3 separate regions of the Homo sapiens genome follow, and all the other regions are linked to region 1. The links are contacts of gene promoters, found by promoter capture Hi-C in blood cells and fetal thymus (Javierre and others, 2016). All regions are on one chromosome and are shown on one strand. Each heading gives the region's core, a stretch centred on a gene start or on the middle of the fragment in contact. The rest is flanking DNA. Distances are from core to core; before and after follow the strand shown.

Region 1 (3,960 bases), core at 1-2,500:
CGTTAAATCATTACGTAGTATATGTAATTGTTATTAACCTCATCGTAAAAGGTGATGCTATGATTCATGTTGCAGACATTATTAACTGGAACAAATAGGCGACACTATTTGGTTCGTTCTTATTTTGCAAATGGGCGAATTGAGGCCCGCAGCCATAAGTGATTTGACGAAGACCACAGACTGATTCGGAGACAGGAGGCAAAATGACACAGGAATGATTCACAAGCCTCTGTCACAAGGGAGTTTTCTGCTTGTAACTTATCAGGGAGGCAAATTTTCTGAAATCATTTTTTCAAATCTCAGATCCATGACTTTTCTGTTGAGCAATGCTGCTGCTTCCTCTCAGCCTCCGCCCACCACCACCACTACCATGTTTAGATGTTGTATTTCATTTAAGGATTTTTCAGTTTTCCTTCCTCGCTGAAAAAGTGATACTGAAATACACTACGAAAACTTTTGTCCTCCCTCCAAAACAAATATCTTACCAGTCACAACTCCACCATTATAACAGAATTATCTTCATTTTTTACATAGTCTTTCTTTTTTGCCACAGTGACTTGTTTTTACATAGCTGAAGTCATAATGAGTAGGCTAGTTTATATTCAGACAATTTTATTTACCAATTATAAGGCGTTTTCCATTCTGTGCAATCATCATTTCAAGTATGTTTCTGATTAATACTTGTTAATTTTGGAATGTAATGTACATATATGGAAACTACTGAAGTTATTGAAGTTGTATGTACATACATTGAAACTACTGAAGAAAATCAGCAATAATTCAACCACCCTCGGAATAACTGATGGATTTCCCCAGCCTTCACATATATGCTTCTTATTTTAAGAATTGAAACTAATGCTGCATGAACAGGTTTCTATTTGCTCCCTGCCCCCTTCGTTTAAAAACAAGGTGGAGACTAAAGGCTCTCAGCCTCAGTTTCTCCATATGCAAAATATCAGGATTAAATAAGTCATGCTAAGGGCTGGAACAAAGTGAGGGCTCTGCAGCGTGTACGCCGGGCACTCAGCCGTGGATGGCAGGGGACGGCGTTCTGTCCCCGGGACGGAGCGCAGGCCTGTAATTGTCCCTCCCGCCTAGGCCATCACTTTCAGGCTTGGGTACGCGCCGCCGTCTGCTCCCCTGGGGCCGCCAGGGGGCGCTGTGGCCCCGGTGCGCGGCAGCCGCGCGACACGGGCCCTCCCTCGGAGTCTTCGGCACCGCCCTGTCCCAGCCTCCTTTGCGGGTAAACAGACATGGCCGGCGAAGGAGATCAGCAGGACGCTGCGCACAACATGGGCAACCACCTGCCGCTCCTGCCTGGTAACCGCCCGGAGTAGTTCCCTGTAGTCGGGAGTGGGGCGAGGCTCGGAGCCGCTAGCGGTGCAGCTGGGCCTGGGAGGCGGGCGTGGGGGCGCCAAGCCTGGCGAGCCAGCCCAGCAGGGCCGCACCGGAAAGCTGCTTCACGTCGGCCCTCGGCCAGCGATGGAGTCGCGGCGCTTTCTTCGCTGCTCTGTTGCCCCGAGCCGTGAGCCAGGGTGTCGGGGGGAGCATTTGCTATTAAGAACAGGAAACCCATCCTCTCCATCCTCCTTGTGTTCTGAGTTTAGCTCCTAGGAAATGCTCTGAAACTAGAGGACCGGGTCAGATTCACAGCGGTTACTTTTGCTGGTCTCCTTCCTTTTAATAAGAGTGACAGCTAACATGTACTAAGCACTTACCATGTTACGAGCCGTGCAGTTAACGCTTTGCATGCATGTCGCCTTTTAATCCTTCCCACATCAGTTTTCAGTTTCCGATTTGATAAGCGAGTATTGGATTTGCAGATTAGTTCAATGACTTGCCCAAGGTCACACAGCAGAGTCAGGATTCCAACCCGGGTGTGTCTGTCATTATATCTCTAAACCACTTCTCTGTTTTGTTTTTCTTACTATCGGTCTTTCTCAGGCATGTACGATTATGCTTAATCAGAGATACTTAGTTTTTCTTTTTCCTGTATGTTGTGTGAAATGTTTAGACTTTGGCCTTGTGTTGAAATACTGAACAAAAAAAAAAATGCATGGAATATTGCATAAACTTTTCATGGAATGCCTTTCAAGAGATGCTTTCCAAAAGGTGTATCATCCAAACTTGAAAGTATTACTTGAGTCCCTTCGTTATATGACAAGTATGTTAGGTGTTGTGGAGATGAAACGAGAGGTAATACACAATCTGATAATTGAGGTTTACTGTCTAGGCGGGGCTGCTGAGAATATAACTAAACGTAAATCAACTGCAGAGGCGGTTGATTTAGGGCCAGATAAATGAATGCTGTTGTGGCTCTTCAGAGGCAGAGGTTGTTTAAGGGTCAGAGGATTTGGGAAAAAGCCTTTCAGGTAGATCAGGAGACATCTAAAAGCACATATTTAGGATATGGTTGTGGGACATAAGGCCTAGGAGGTATATTGGGTCTAAGTTGCTGGGAAACTGGCATCTCTTGCCAGTGGGTTTGGGTTTTTCCTGTGGATTGCCAAGAAACAGTTTTAGGTTTCAGGTAATTGCCTAAAGAAATCTATGCTTGGAAGATTAATTTGTCCACTGGTAGCAGCATGGATTAAAAGAGGAAGAGACTGAGTGCGTGCCCACCATATAGGAGAGAACTTTTCTGTAAAAATAAACCATAGTCACTGGTTGTTCTCGAAGCCATTCTAGCTGAGTTGACACAAGGGTAAGTGTGCCAGCCTTTGATGGAAAGCTGAGCTATTTTTTCAGAGACATTAGCCCTACTCTCTGTGCCAAATCCGGTGTTTCAGGGAGAATGGTGAATAGAAGAGGGAGGATACTGATCTTCTGTCGACATTCACATCGTGCCTCTGCATGAGATGAGTCATCAGACTTCACTGATAGCTCTGAACAGTCAGCGTGGTTTTTTGTTTGTTTTTTTTTTGTTTGTTTTGTTTTGTTTTTTGTTTTTCAGAAAAGCGTCGGGAGAGGGCCCAGAGATGGTGTAGATATAGCAATAATGCCTCTCCAAATTACGTAAATTTTATTTGTAGGGAAACACTGGGCTTTCCATAATTCCATGTAGTACGAGTTGTTCTGAAGAGTAAATCCTCTAAGTTCCAACAAAAAGCTTTATATTTGAGATGTGAAGAGTTTATCCTAGGCAAATGAAACATTAATAAACATAACTGAGTAGGGGAAAGTGGTTTTTAGCCATATTTATGAAAAAAAGGTTACTAAAGAAATTATTTAGAGACTAGGAGTCAGAACAGTTAAAATGTAAATTTTTAACAATATTAATTCCAGCCTTTGAGCTAATAGTTTATCTTTTAAACTTTCTGTAGTAGAGCAATAAAGTGGGTTGTGCTGCATGCCAAGTGATAGCCATACTGTCAGAGTTGGAAATACAAACAATTTGATGCAGAATATTTTTGTCATCCATTTAGATAGCTCTTTTTTTATCTCAGTGAAACTTACATGTTCCAAGGAAAATTTGTATGAAGTGTTAGACCATTGGCTATTTACATATAAGTTGAAGTAATTCTGTTTTTGACAAAGTTTTATATCTAGGAAGTTGTAATAATAAATAGAAAGTCCAAGGCAGTTACCATATTGAAAATCATTTTTATTTTCTGTCAGGGGCCTGGCTAGAGGTGGTTTGACTTAAATAATGATATGCAAAGGAAAACAAATGATTATTTCGTAATGACATTTTATCGATTTAGAAGTTTATTTGGGGCATTTAAAAATACATGAACTGGGAGGTGAGAAATGAGATTCAGTAATTCTTTATTGTTAGTCTAGGCCAGGGTCTCCCAACCTCAGCACTGGACTTTTGGGCTGGAGAATTCTTTGGGTGGGATTGTCTCGTGCATTGTAGGATATTTAGCTGCATCCCTGGCCTCTACCCACTAGATGCCAGTAGGACTCCCTTAGTTATTGCAACCAATATCCCCTGAGGGGCAAAATCACCTGTGGTTG
Region 2 (3,960 bases), core at 1,036-3,535, 2.6 Mb after region 1:
CATCTGCCTCGGCCTCCCAAAGTACTGGCATTACAGGCTTGAGCCACTGTGCGAGCCAAACAATTTTAGTAAGCTCAGGATTCTTTAACTCTTTTCTTTTTTAAAAACAAAATGGGGGAACGTAGACACAAACTAGATATCACTAGATGATACCAGAATCAGAGCTAAACCAGTGCATGTCCATCCTTGCAGTTAAAGGCACCCTCAAAGACACCTACCACACTTTACTGATGCTTTGAGGCACATATGTTCCTAGATGCTCCAAGCACTACAATGAAGGATTTAAACAGCAGTAAAGTACATAAATCAGTAAAATTGAAATAGAGATGTGTGTTGATAAGGGAAGGGAGACAACTGAGAAAAAAATCACCTCAGCTTGATAAGTTATTTACCAGATCAGAAAATGTCCCTCTACACATAAAGATGTCCTTACCTTCAAATCTTACATTGATCCTTGAGACTGTGATCTATTTTGTGACCACTGAAAGCACCAGCATTATTAGAAGCAGTCAGAGGGTTTGAGTCTGGATGATGCCAAAAGATTATCCATATGGTCTCAGGAAAACATTCAGAACATAGGCCTAGTCTCCAAACTGGTAACCTAAAAGTGCACACATTATTTATAATGCTGCCACCCTCTGACAACAAACCCACTGTATTAATGGGGGAAATGGAGGCTCTTTAATAGACGCAACAGAGAAAATCCAACTAATGAAATGCTAATAACCTCTTTTGTGACTGGCCTGGGCCTTGGCAAAGGAAGTGGTTTTCGAATATGAGCTCACATTTAATCACTTTGTACTTATTAAAAAATGCAGGATTCCAAGATAATATCCCCAGGAAACCATAGATGTTTTTATATTTATATAAATGTGTATGTGCATATGTACATACACACACACACACACATATATATATTTGTGTTTGTTATGTATTTATACACACATACATCCATACCTGCCATGAGTTGAAGGTGTTCCCCAAAAAGCATGTTGGAAATTTAATAACCAATGCAACAACATTGGGAAGTGGGGCCTAACGAGAGGTGTTTTGGTCAGAAGAGCTCCATACTTATAAATGGAATAATACTGTTTATGAAAGACTTCAGCCTGCATGTCCTATCACTTGCTTTCTCATGCATGTGCATTTTTGTCCTTCCACCATGGGAAGCAGCAAGAAGACTGTCACCACATGCAGGATCTTTGACATTGGACTTCCCAGCCTCCAGAACCTTAAGATCTGTTCTTTATAAATTACTCCATCTCAGGTATTCTGCTATGCAACCCCAAACAGATTAAGATAAATAAATGGTACTGGGAAGTGGGACTGTTGCTATAACAAATACCAGAAGATGTGAGAAGGGCTTTGAAACAGGGTAAAGAGTAGAGACTGGAAGAATTTGGAAGAGCAGGCTATAAAAGCCTAGCTTACTATACAGGGAGCATTAAGGGTGCATCTTCTGAGGGCTCAGAAGAAAAGAAGAGTTGTAAAAAGAACCTAAATCTTCTTACAGATTATTTAAGTGGTCATCATCAGAATACTGGGAGAAATACAGAAAGTAAAGATCATTTTGATGACATCTCAGGTGGAAATAACAAAGTATTGGAAACTGAAGTAGAGGCCATCCTTGTTATTCAGTCACCAAGAAGTTGGCAGAATCCTGTCCATGTCCTAGGACTTCATGAAGGTAGAATTTAAGAGCTATGAGCTAGCAGGTCTGGCAGAAGTAATATTTAAGCATCAAAGTACTCAAGATGCTGCATGGCTTCTATTAGCTGCTTACAGTAAAATAAGAGAAGGAGACAATAATGTAATGATGGAATTTATCATTAAAAGGGAAACAGAATAGAAAGATTTAGAAAAATCTCAGCCTGGCCATGTAAAGAATTAAAAAGTGTGTTCAGCAGAGAATATTAAGTGTGTGGCCAAGTGACTCTTTGCTAATGAGATTAATATGGGTAGAAGCAAGCCAGGTTCTATTGATTAAGACAATAGAAGAACGACCTTAAAGGCATTTCACAGACCTTCAAGGCAAGATAGGACTTGCCTTGTTTTCAGAGCAAAGTTTTCAGAGAGGTGGCTACAGGACCTCAGGATTCACTGCCCTTTGCTTTAGGACTCTGCTCTCTGAATGCAGTGCCTCTTGGCCATCCTAGTCTTGGCTCAAGTGGACCCAAGTGAGGCTTGAGCCACCAAAGGTACAAGCTGTAAATCCTGGCAGCATCCTCATGGTACTAATTCTGCAGGTGCACAGCGGGCAGGAGCTCTGGGACCATGGCAACGTCTACTTAGATTTCAAAGCATGTTACAGACAGACTGGAGACCATGGCAAAGACTTGCCGCAGAGGCAAACCCACTGCAGAAAGTCCCCACTAGGGCAATGCCTAGTGGAGTCATGAGAGTGGAGTAGCCTCCAAGACCTCAGAACTGCTGAACCATCAATATGCTGCTCCAGCCTGGGAAAGCCACGGGTATAAGACTCCAACCCATGAGAGCTGCTAGGTGGAGTAAGCCTGCTAAAGTCATAGGGATGGGCTGCCTGATGCTTTGGAGGTCCAATCCTTGTCCCAGTGTGCTGAGAAGGCAAGACACGGAGTTAAAAAAGTTATTCTCCAGCTTTAAGATTTACTGTTTTCCCCCTATTGGGTTTTGGACTTACTTGGGACTAGTTACCCCTCTTTTCTTGCCTATTTGTCCATTTTGGAATGAGAATGTCTACTCTATGCCAGTTCCATCACTGTAATTTGGAAGTAGATAACTTGCTTTCGTTTCACAGGCTGATAGTTGGAGGGCATTTGCCTCAAAATGAATCATGCCTTGACTCTCACCACCATTCTCTTTAGAGGAGACTCTCGACTTTGGCCTTATGAGTTGGTGCTGGAACAAACTAAAACTTTGGGGGTATTGAAATGAAAGTAATGCATTTTGCTTGTGAGAATGACATGAATTTCGGGGACCAGGGTTGGAATGCTATGGTTTGAATGTGGTCCCTAAAAGCATATATTGGAAACTTAATCTCTAATGCAACAGTGTGGGGTAGTGGGGCCTAATGGGAGGTGATTGTGAAGGGGGCTCCATCTTTATGAATGGATTAATAATGCCAATTATAAAAGAGTTGGGGGCTGTGAGTTCAGTCTCTTGATCTTTTGAGCATGTACTCCTTTGCTTTCCTACTATGGGGTGATGTAGCAAAAAGTTCCTCACCAGAAGTGGGTCACTTGATTTTTGGACTCCCCAGCATCTAGAACTATAAGAAACAAATATCTGTTCTTTGTAGAAACCAAAAACCAAATACCACATGTTCTCACCTATAAGTGGGAGCTAAACATTGGGTACACATGAACATGAAGATGGGAACAATATATACTGGAGAGTACTAGATTGGGAAGGGACAGAGTGGGACAAGGGTTAAAAAACTACCCATTGGGTACTATGATCACTACCTGAGTGACAGGATCAATCATACTAACAGCAGCATCATGCAATATACTCATGGAACTGACCTGCATATGTACCTCCTGAATCTAAAATAAAAGTCGAAATATTTTTTAAAAAAATAAAGAAATATGTATTTTTTATAAACCACCTTGCCTTGGGTATTCTGTGTCAGCAGTCCCAAAAAGACTAAGACAACACCCAAAAGCAAAAGTTGGTGGTCTGAGCTTCATTAACAACTTTTCAAAGTCCTCCTTTGTGAAAAAGCGGCAAAAATTAGCTTGATTATTGGAAAATATGATAGGCCTAATTGACATATTAAAAGTAACATGATGAAGTAGAGAACATTTTCCCAAGGTGGTTTTCCCTCTATTTACACATATAGTAAGTATGTGGGTGACGACCATATCATGCATGTGAATACATCCCTTGCCTCATCAAAAAAAGTGACCAAAGTGTATAAAAGGTCATACAGTATTGATTATACATGGTATCACAAAAAGAAGAAATCAAAGGACATTACAG
Region 3 (3,960 bases), core at 1,010-3,509, 2.3 Mb after region 1:
GCCTGTTTCCCAGGGAGGAGGGGATGTTGCATGGATTTGGGCCATTCCACTGGGCCTAAGCTTAAAGTAGCTGGGGTTGTAGTTCTGTGGCCTTCCTTGTGAGCATGGTGGAATGATGCTGGGGCCTCAGGGATGGAGAGACACAGTGGCTACTGGCCCCCAGAGTAGGACATACTCTAGCAGTCAGTCTGGTTTCAGGATGGTACTATGCAGTTCCAACTTAGGTCACGGGAGTTGGTGGGTATACGAAATGGGCTCCTAGTATAGGGCAACACAGCTATGTGAACTCCAGAAAGCTCCCCAGATAGAATTTGTTGACTGTGAGGCTTGCAGGACCCTCCCGTAGCAGCCTGCAGGCATCTGCAGTAGTAATGGGGACAACTGGTGTCTCCAGCTTACCTTTTCTCGATAAGCAGTAGCCCCTCCTGGCTATGAGCCAATCCCAGTGAGGGAACAATTTGGTAGAGTTTGTGTGTCTCCCTCTTCTTTTATGGTTCTATCCTGAGTTTCTGTGCTTCACAGGGATTTTTTCACTCCCCTTATGTTCCCCAGCATACTTCCTCAGTAACTTCCACTGAAATATAGTTGTTCATTTGTTATGTTGGAGGGGAACCCCACAACCCTTTTTGTGGGGATGAGTGCCAAACAACTCTGATTGACCATCTTGCTAACATTACTCTCCCTGTTCTATTTCTAAATTAAATTTAAAATGTATAGAAATAAATGCAAGATTTAGAAACTACATATTGGCAAATCTGCCTTCTCACTGCCAATAAGACACACACTCGAATTTAGTCTTCAGCAAGGGTGTAATATACAAAGGGCTAGACCTCAGAAAATATGCGTTTGAGTCCTAATTCTGGCCCCAATTTTAAAATCAATTATCCTTAGAACTTAATCTTTCTGAGCCTCTTTTTTTCTCCTGTGGTATGCAAAATGAATGTGAAGTTGATGACTATTAAATTATAAATTTCATTTATTCTACGCTAACCCTATTTTAAAAATCAATAAATATGTTACCTATGATTCAGCAAAGAACACTAGTATCAGTCAGTTTAATGTATTAAAGGATTCTTAAGTCTTTCATATATTAAAACTTATTTTCATTCTACAATGGTTATTGTTTTGTGTTTTTCTTACTAAACTATATCTTAATTTTATGTCATGTAATTGCATTAATTTTTATCAAAAATAATTACTGCAGAAAAAAGTTACTATAATTTTAACATAATTATTAAACTTCAGCTTACTATTTTAAAAACTACTTATTTATTTTGCTGTCAGACAAAATAGCACTTCTTATTTTTAGGCCTTAGTTTTTTTTTTAATTTTATTATTATGATACTTTAAGTTTTAGGGTACATGTGCACAACGTGCAGGTTTGTTACATATGTATACATGTGCCATGTTGGTGTGCTGCACCCATTAACTTGTCATTTAGCATTAGGTATATCTCTTAATGCTAGGCCTTAGTTTTAAACAGATTAAAATAATATTTTTAAGTGGTAAAAGAATAGATAGATAGATAGATTAGATATCTATATATATTCAGAAAGTAATTAGTATAGAAGTAAAAAAAAAGTGACAGTGTAGTGTTATACCTTTCTTGGCCCATTAGAAAAAGAATAACATAATCTAAGTTTTCATATTTGCAAAATTGGCAAAATCATTCTAAGCTTTGGGGTCAGGTGATACTAAGGGGTATTCTGAATGATGTAAATTCTAAAAATGTGACATGTTGTTGCTTGTAATGTTTACATTATGCTTCATTCACATTCCAAGATAGACTCTATTACCATGAGGCTTAAAAATTATATAGGAATAGAGATCAATGTCTCTAAAAGAGGGCTTGTTAACCTTTGCACTATTGATATTTTGGGGCAGTTACATGTTTTGTTTTGTATTGTTTTGGTTGAAAGCTGTCTTACCTACTGTAAGATTTTTACTAGTATTTCTGGCTTCTACCTAGTTAATGCAAATACCCACTCCACCTCTACTGTTACAATCAAATATGTCTTCGGACATTACGAATGTTCCTTGTGAGACAAAGTTAGGCTTGGTTGAAAACCACTGGTCTAGAATATACTGAACTGAAAATAATTTTAATGCCATTTACAGGTGGATGAGATTGAATGCAAGTTTTAGTTAAAAAATCATTTTTGCAGTTTTATGGATAAATAATTTATAATTTATCAAATAAAGTGTATAATTCAGTGGTTTTTATTGCATTCACACATTTGTGCAACCATCATCAAACTCTGGAACATTTGTATCACTTTAAAAGGAAACACTTGTCCTCATCAGCAGTCATTCTCATTATTCCCCCACCTTCATCTATCAGTCCCAGGCAAGCACCAAAATACTTTCTAACTCCATGAACTTACTTATTACATACATTATATAAAAATGGAATTTTACAATATCTTTTTGTAAGTTTTTGTCTAGGGTGTGACTGGATTTTCACTTAGTTTTCAAGTTGAATTTATGTTTAATGTAATATGTATCAATACTTCATTTATTTTTATTGCAAAATTATATTTCATTATATGTATATAACATATTTAATTTATCCAATCATCTTTTGCTTATTCTTTAGTTACTGAGAAAAACTGCATTATTCAACTATGACTGTAAATGTAGCTATTCATTATTTTTCTTCTATTGTTTATTTATTTTGTACTTTTTTGTTTTATTCATTTTGAGATTAGGTTATTAAATGCTTACAAAGTTATTTTTGTCATCTTTTTCTGTTGTTTTATCTTTTTATCATTATAAAATTTCAAACTTTATGTATAAATATTTCTTGCTTTTCAGTATAGTTTCTTTAGAATTACAAGCTTTGTTTTGATTAGGTTTATCATGTTCCGTAATTCTACTTTCAGTCTTTCTTATTTTTGTATTAAAGACACATCTCTTATCAGCAGAACACAGTTACATTTTGTTTCAGTATTCAATTTTAAATTGTTTGCCTACGAATTGCAGGATTTTGTCCATATTAACTTAATGTAATAGCTGAACTATTTGAGTTTAAATGGACTATTCTATGAATTTTTTAAAAATTTGTCCTATCTGCATAGGCATGAGCAAAGACTTCATGACTAAAACACCAAAAGCAATTGCAACAAAAGCCAAAATTGACAAATGGGATCTAATCAAACTAAAGAGCTTCTGCACAGCAAAAGAAACTATCATCAGAGTGAACAGGCAACTAACAGAATGGGAGAAAATTTCTGCAAGCCACCAATCTGACAAAAGTCTAATATCCAGAATCTACAAGGAACTTAAACAAGTTTACAAGAAAAATCAAGCAACCTCATCCAAAAGTGGGCCAAGGATATGAACAGACATTTCTCAAAAGAAGACATTTATGCAGCCAACAAACATATGAATAAAAGCTCATCATCACTGGTCATTAGAGAAATGCAAATCAAAACCTCAATGGGATACCATCTCACACCAGTTTAAATGGTGATTAAAAAGTCAGGAAACAACAGATGCTGGAGAGGATGTGGAGAAATAGGAATGTTTTTTCACTGTTGGTGGGAGTGTAAATTAGTTCAACCATTGTGGAAGACAGTGTGGTGATTCCTCAAGGATCCAGAACCAGAAATACCATTTGACCCAGCAATCCCATTACTGGGTATATAGCCAAAGGATTATAAATCATTCTACTATAAAGACATATGCACATGTATGTTTATTGCAACACTATTTACAATAGCAAACACTTGAACCAACCCAAATGCCCATCAATGATAGACTGAATAAAGAACAATGTGGCACATATACACCATGGAATACTATGTAGCCATAAAAAAGAATGAGTTCATGTCCTTTGCCAGGACATGGATGAAGCTGGATGCCGTCATTCTCAGCAAACTAACACAGGCACAGAAAACAAAACACTGCATGTTCTCACTCATAAGTGGGAGTTGAACAATTAGAACACATGGACACAGG

Evidence for each region. Contacts are between HindIII fragments. The CHiCAGO score rates a contact against its expected background, and 5 or more counts as called.
Region 2: a fragment that was not itself captured here is called in contact with the fragment with the promoter of CRBN in region 1 in 1 of 17 cell types (fetal thymus); the score reaches 8.7 in fetal thymus.
Region 3: a fragment that was not itself captured here is called in contact with the fragment with the promoter of CRBN in region 1 in 1 of 17 cell types (endothelial precursors); the score reaches 5.8 in endothelial precursors.

What each region holds. Positions count from the first base shown.
Region 1 is chr3:3,176,981-3,180,940 of GRCh38, reverse strand. It overlaps CRBN (cereblon), which reads left to right and starts at 1,250. Exons shown (of 11, transcript NM_016302.4): 1 at 1,250-1,320. The coding sequence starts at 1,254. RefSeq lists a silencer at 1,017-1,186. The HindIII fragment of the contact is 7,719 bases long and covers 1-3,111 here.
Region 2 is chr3:626,553-630,512 of GRCh38, reverse strand. All of the region lies in intron 1 of LINC01266 (long intergenic non-protein coding RNA 1266), which reads right to left. Among named protein-coding and RNA genes, the nearest start is that of LINC01266, 36 kb to the right of the region's middle. The HindIII fragment of the contact is 5,117 bases long and covers 1-3,960 here.
Region 3 is chr3:896,906-900,865 of GRCh38, reverse strand. All of the region lies in intron 2 of LOC107986059 (a long non-coding RNA gene), which reads right to left. Among named protein-coding and RNA genes, the nearest start is that of CNTN6, 190 kb to the left of the region's middle. The HindIII fragment of the contact is 1,161 bases long and covers 1,679-2,839 here.